Regions from separate parts of the Homo sapiens genome. Here region 1 is linked to region 2. Evidence: promoter capture Hi-C in human tissues and cell types (Jung and others, 2019). All regions are on one chromosome and are shown on one strand. The core of a region is centred on a gene start or on the middle of the fragment in contact, and the rest is flanking DNA. Distances in the headings are between cores, read along the strand shown.

Region 1 (3,501 bases), core at 265-2,764, 380 kb before region 2:
GAGATCCTCTCCAATTTGTTTATTTTTGAATTTGTTTTTCCAAGAAAATGCAGTCATCCTTCAGTATCTGTGGTTCCAGGACCTCACCAGATACCAAAATCCATGGACACTCAAGTTTCTGATATTAAGTGGTGTAATATTTGCATATTACTTTTGGATATCCTCCTTTTTAAAGTATAAAAGTATATATTTTATACTTTAAAATAATCTCCAGATTACTTATGACAGCTAACGTAATGTAAATGCTATGTACATTACAAATTTACATAGGAAATTTACAAAGTTGTTGTAATGTTAAGGGAATGATGACAAGAAAAAGAGTGTACCTGTTCAGTACAGACACAATCCAGTTTTTTTTTCCTGAATATTTTTAGTCTGTGGTTGTTTGAATCCATGGATGCTATACCCATGGATATGGTGGGCCAACTGTAACATCATGAGTCTTGAAATGAAAATCATTAAGAAGCCAGGCTTTTTTTGACACATACTTTCTTTAGAAGGTAAGTTTGGTTCTTTTATAATCTTAACCATGGTATGACACTAATATTTTTCTTTTTTCCTATCTAGCTATCTCTTAAAAACAAAAGCCATAGTAAATGCATCAGAGATGGATATTCAAAATGTTCCTCTATCAGAAAAGATTGCAGAGGTAAAATTTCATGATGGTTGTATGCTTTTTTAAAATACAGACAACTCTTGATAACTTCTACCAATGAACTTGGGGATGATGAAATGGCATGATGCTCAATAATCCTTTTTACTTGATTTGACCTTCCCTATTGAATTTGTAATGAAAAACAAAATACTAAAACCACACTGTAAGGTATAGTTCAGGAAGAAAGGAAAAGCTGCTCAACTGCTGCACTCCTGCATTCTCCTTTGTGCTGGGAATGGATATCATCATCTTGCCATAGAGGTGTCTTCTTTGCAAATACCTTGTAATTGCTCAACTGTCTCAGACATAAGAGTGATGAAACAGTTATTAAGAATTCCTGGCCGGGCGTGGTGGCTCACGCCTGTAATCCCAGCACTTTGGTAGGCCAAGGCGAGCAGAACATGAGGTCAGGAGATGGAGACCATCCTGGCTAACACAGTGAAACCCCATCTCTATTACAAATACAAAAAATTAGCCGGGCGTGGTGGCACGTGCCTGTAGTCCCAGCTACTCGGGAGGCAGAGGCAGGAGAATTGCTTGAACTGGGAGGTGGAGGTTGCAGTGAGCTGAGATTGCGCCACTGCATTCCAGCCTGGGCAACAGAGCAAGACTCTGTCTCAAAAAAAAAAAAAAAAAAAATTTAGCCGGTCATGGTGGTGGGCGCCTGTAATCCCAGCTACTTAGGAGACTGAGGCAGGAGAATCGCTTGAACCCAGGTGGTGGAGGTTGCAGTGAGCCGAGACTGCGCCACTGCACTCCAGCCTGGGCAACAGAGCGAGACTGCGTCTCAAAAAAAAATAATTCTTGCCTGGGCGTGGTGGCTCACGCCTGTAATCCCAGCACTTTGGGAGGCTGAGGCGGATGGATAACCCGAGATCAGTAGTTCGAGACCAGCCTGACCAACATGGAGAAACCCTGTCTCTACTAAAAATACAAAATTAGCCGGGCGTGGTGGCACATGCCTGTAATCCCAGCTACTTGGGAGGTTGAGACAGGAGAAGCACTTGAACCTGCGAGATAGAGGTTGTTGTGAGGCAAGATCATGCCATTGCACTCTAGCCTGAGCAACAAGAGTGAAAATCTGTCTCAAAAAAAAAAAAAAGAAAAAAAGAAGGCTGGGCATGGTGGCTTATGCCTGTAATCCCAGCACTTTGGGAGGCTGAGGCAGGCAGATCACCTCAGGTCGGGAGTTTGAGACCAGCCTGACCAACATGGAGAAATCCCATCTCTACTAAAAATACAAAATTAGCCGGGCGTGTTGGCGCATGCCTATAATCCCAGCTTTTCGGGAGGCTGAGGCAGGAGAATCGCTTGAACCTGGGAGGCAGAGGTTGCAGTGAGCCGAGAGCTTGCCATTGAGAGCGAAACTCTGTGTGGAAAAAAAAAAAAAGAATTCTTATTGGCTGGGTGCGGTGGCTCACACCTGTAATCCCAGCACTTTGAGAAGCCGAGGTGGGTGGATCATGAGGTCAGGAGTTCAGCCTGGCCAAGATGGTGAAACCCCGTCTCTACTAAAACTAGAAAAATTAGCCAGGCGCAGTGGCAGGCGCCTATAATCCCAGCCCCAGCTACTCAGGAGGCTGAAGCAGGAGAATCGCTTGGACCTGGATGGCAGAGGTTGCAGTGAGCCAAGATCACGCCATTGCATTCTAGCCTGGGTGACAGTGAGAATCTATTTCAAAAATAATAATAATAATAATTGGTATGGGAAATGACTTTGGAATGGCAGTATGAGGAGTTCCATGGATAGGATCCAGGAAGAATATTATAAAGGAAACAACCATCTTAAGTCTGTGGAAATTTTCTTCAAGGTATATGGCAAATACAGAAACATTTATTTGTTTATTTATTTTTGAGACAAAGTCTCACTCTGCCTCCCAGGCTGGAATGCAGTGGCACAGTCTTGGGTCACTGCAACCCCCTCCTCCCGGGTTCAAGCGATTCTCCCACATGGAGAATCCTTGTCTCTACTAAAAATACTAAAAAGCCTCCTGAGTACCTGGGACTACAGGCGCGCACTACCGTGCCCAGATAATTTTTGTATTTTTAGTAGAGACGGGGTTTTACCATCTCTGCTAAAAATGATGGCCAGGCTGTTCTCGAACTTCCGAGCTCAGGTGACCCACCCGCCTCGGCCTACCAAACTGCTGGGATTACAGGTGTGAGTGCCAGGTTCAAGTGCTTCTGCTTCAGCCTCCCCAGTAGCTGGGAACCCAGTTGCCCTTGCCCCCAGCTTGCTTGTAGGGTGGAAATCCTATGCTGGGAGGGGCGAATGGAGATTATCAGAAGCCACTGCTCTTGCCCTGCTGAGTAACAACACTAAATTTCATGCTAAATATAGCTGTAAGAACTCTTAAAAATTACCTAATTGCAACAGTTATCTGTTCTAAACCTAATAACCAGAGTTAACTTTGCAGACCATTAGTAGAATGTTAAAGTCAGAGAGGCATTTGTTACTGTTAACAAAGTGTTAAAAGAAAAGCTAAATTCTTGCCACTGGAAAAGGAGGAGAAGCCTGTCTCCACAAAGCACTGTGACCAGACTTTATTCATCTTCACAGTAGCAGTGCTGCTCAGCAATGTTTTGTCTTTTTTCACACGAAACTTTACATCTGAGGATCTTTTTTTTTTTTTTTTTTGAGACGGAGTCTCGCTCTGTCACCCAGGCTGGAATGCAGTGGCACGATCTTGGCTCACTGCAAGCTCTGCCTCCTGGGTTCACTCATTCTCTTGCCTCAGCCTCCTGAGTAGCTGGGACTACAGGCGCCCGCCACCGTGCCCAGCTAATTTTGTTTTTGTATTTTTAGTAGAGATGGGGTTTCACCGTGTTAGCCAGGATGGTCTTGA
Region 2 (3,206 bases), core at 339-2,838:
CTTCAGCCTTTCTCACCGCCGTACTCCCCGCGTTCCCACGCCAAAAATAACCCGCAGGAAACGCAATTGTGCTCTGAGTCCAGGCAGCGAGCGGAATCCGAGCGTCCAGCGCGGGGCGCAGCTCCAGGCCAAGCTAAGCGTCCTGCCTCCCACCCCCAAGCCCGCACTTCCCCCGCCTAGAACAGATTAACTCTTTCGGCGCTGCGCCGTGTCGCCCCCCTGTGGTGGCGGAGCGAGCTACTCACCTGGCCGCAGGTCGTCTCCTGGCGCGTGCCAAGCTTCGATGATGAGCGAGAAGGTACCCTGGGAAAGGGGGTGGGGGGACGGAGAGATGGCGAGATGAGCAAGCGGGGAGAGGTGGGGGTGCCTTGCGGCAGCCTGTTTAATTAATCTAATTGCAGGATTCAGTTACTGCGCCCGGGTCAACATAACGGGGCTGTGCACAGTGTAGCGCTTGAGCAGGGAAGGCGAGAGGAGAACCCCCGGTAGAGGGAGGGTTGAGAGACGGGAGAGTGTAAGGGAGAGCCACTGGAGGAGGGGGTGGTAGGGTACCGCCCCAGAGTGGTAGGTAATGAAAATCGTGTCCCAAGAGCTGGGGACGGGAGGACATAAACTGGGAAGACGGAGACTGGTGAGAGCCTTTTCTGGGATCAGTCTCAGGAGAGAGTCGGGAAGAGCCAGGAAAGAATGCATCCTGGGCTTTTTGGGGGTGGGGGTGTGTGTACAAGGAAATCTGGGGAGGGGGCTTTGGTCCCAGGGCGCCTCCTCTCTCGGCTTCTGCGACCTCCCAGTGCGCCCAGGCTGTGCTCACCGGCCAGGTGAAATTGAAGGGCAGTTGGAGAGGGTTGCGCCCCCCGCCGCTACTGTCGTCCCGGACAGCGAAGGAGTTGGTGCCCAATACCGGCGTGGAGACGGTCCCGAAGGTGCAGGGTCCGGGCGAGACGACCGCCTGGAAGTGCTTAAGGCAGACGCGGAAGAAAGTCCGGCAGCCGGGCTCGCAAGGCCGCCCACTGGCCAGTACGCCGCGCTCGTTGATGAACTCCTGCAGCTGCAGCTGGAAGACGCCGGAGCCGGCCGCGCGCTATTGCACAGGGACCGAGGGAAGGAGGGAGGGGACCGGTCAGCTCAGCTGGTGCCCGGGGCTGAGGCCCAGAGCGCGGCAGAGGGGACGGAGAGGGCGCGGGACGTGTTACCTGCTGCCAAAGTGCCACCAGCAGCAGTAGCGCCCAGCCAGAGGCGCTCCGGGACGCTGCCGCCATCCCCTCGGGCGTCGCTCTCTCCACCCGCGGGCCCTCAATCTGGCTCTGTTCGCGACGCCGCTTTCCCGCGCGTCCGCCAGCCGGCGGGGTCCCTGAAAAGAGGCGCTCCTCTCGGGACGCTGCTCCCCTTTGGCCTTCTCGCTGGCTCCGCTGCAGCTGCCGCTGTAGGTAATCCAGGTGACTACGGCTGGGCGGCGACCGCGCCGAGGACGCGTCTTCTGTCTAATCCTGGGGCTGCAAGCGGGCTAGTGCCGGTGTACGCTGCACCAAGGCGGCTGGGGCTGCGGCTCTTGGCCTCGTGTTCCCGGCCTGCGCGCAGCGCCGCTACTGAAACCTGCGCGCTGGGGGCCTTCCTTATATATATTGGCTCCTCTCCTCGCCGCCTGTCACTCAGACTCATGGTCATTCTCCCCTCCCCTCCCGGCCTCTAGCTGCTACAGTCCCAGCGCCGCCCGGAGGGGGCCTCCGCCCCCGCCGCTCCCCCCTCCCCGTCAGCCAGTCGGGCGCAGGTCCCCGCCCCTCCGTGCCGCTCCCAACCTCTAGGTCCCCCAGCTCTGCGCGTGCCGAGGTGACCAGTCCTCCGTGATGGCGGGGTTAAGGGCTGAGACCCTGGCCGCCGGAGGATAGAGGGGTTGCCCGGTAATGGGGCAGGAGGTGAGTGGGTGGTTCGGGGATGGTCTTGGGGGCGGAGACACTAGGCAGTCCCTGTAGGCTGTGCATCCGCAGCAGGCGCTAGTTACCTAGTGTTCCAAAGCAGGTAAAAAGAACTTAAGCCCGGAATGCAAAAACCAGCGCTAGGGAAATCCGATCTCCTTTTCCTTCCTGGAGCTTCTGGAGCCCTTGTCTCAACGGCCCCCAACCTATGAGTGCCCACCCACCACGCGTCCCCAGCGCAGCAGGGAAGCCAGCAGAAGCGTTAACCTCTCTGTGGCCACTCTGAGCAAGGCTAGGGGCTAAGGGTCTAAGGCTCGGGGCCCTCTCTGTGCACCTGTTGGGCGTCTCCCTCTCTAGCTAAGGGGGGGCGTGCCCAGCGCGTGCCTTCTCCCTTCTGCCCCCTGCCAGGGCTTGGCGCGTGCCAGAGACCCAGACGCGCGGTCCCTGAGGTGGGGGAGGGCGGGGCGTGGTCCCGGAGGTAGGAGGGGGGCGCGTCCTCAGCTGTATGGTAATGAGGTTCTGGCCCCGCCTCCAGCGCGTCCCCTCACCTGAGTCCAGCTTCAGTTCCTGCGCCCACTGCCTCCCCCCACCCCAGCAGCCCCAAGCCCCCGGCCGCGCCCTGTCGCTCAGCTGGGGCAAGGAGGAACTCTCCTGACGCCAGAGTTGGCTCAGGCCACTGGAGAATCAAGGTGAGGGACTGAGGCCGGGTCGGCCCGGGTCCTCGCCTCATAAGGCGGGATGTGGGGTGGAACTGGAGGCTTGCGGAGCTGTTTGAGTTTCAGGCGGCTTCCCAAGTCTCGCCCGAGAGGGTCCCCTGGGTGGCCCCACTCCTCCAAGCGGCAGCAGCGCAGCTGCTTTCTCGGAACCCGGCGTGATCCCCGGAGACCGCAGACCGGGGAGGGCCGGCTTCTCCCAGTCTCAGGGGTGCCGGGGAGCTCTCTCTTTGCGACGCCGAGGGCAGCGGGGGCCCTGTGGCTTCAGCTGTCAGCCCGCCCGCGAGGTGATGGCTGTAGTCGGGCGGTAAGATCAGCGCGGGGGGGGAGCCGGGACGCGGCGCGAACCCGGGGGAGGCGGTAAGGGTGGGGGAGCGGCGAGAAGCCCAACAGCTGCCAATGCCGAGCATGGTCTGATTTTTTTTTTTGAGTTGGGTGGTGGTGGTGGAGGACTGGGGGACGGGTGTGGTGGGGGGGGGAAGGATGAGAAACAAGAGGTTGGGAGCGTGGGTTGGGGGAGGGGCGAGGTGAGGAGACGGGCTCCGGGGTCCCCCACGCACGGCCACCCCTCCCAGCCACC

What was found. Contacts are between HindIII fragments. The study calls those that stand out against the background at their distance.
Region 1: a contact is called between a fragment that was not itself captured here and the fragment with the promoter of DLL4 in region 2, in 2 of the 25 tissues and cell types used here (lymphoblastoid cells and spleen).

What each region holds. Positions count from the first base shown.
Region 1 is chr15:41,310,421-41,313,921 of GRCh38, reverse strand. OIP5 (Opa interacting protein 5) reads left to right here. Exons shown (of 5, transcript NM_007280.2): 4 at 568-649. OIP5-AS1 (OIP5 antisense RNA 1) reads right to left here. Exons shown (of 5, transcript NR_152821.1): 5 at 584-2,024. Among named protein-coding and RNA genes, the nearest start is that of OIP5, 20 kb to the left of the region's middle. The HindIII fragment of the contact is 4,895 bases long and covers 1-3,501 here.
Region 2 is chr15:40,927,722-40,930,927 of GRCh38, reverse strand. It overlaps DLL4 (delta like canonical Notch ligand 4), which reads right to left and starts at 1,588. Exons shown (of 11, transcript NM_019074.4): 1 at 1,194-1,588; 2 at 812-1,081; 3 at 246-303. The coding sequence starts at 1,259. RefSeq lists silencers at 1,694-1,783, 2,377-2,446. The HindIII fragment of the contact is 17,329 bases long and covers 1-3,206 here.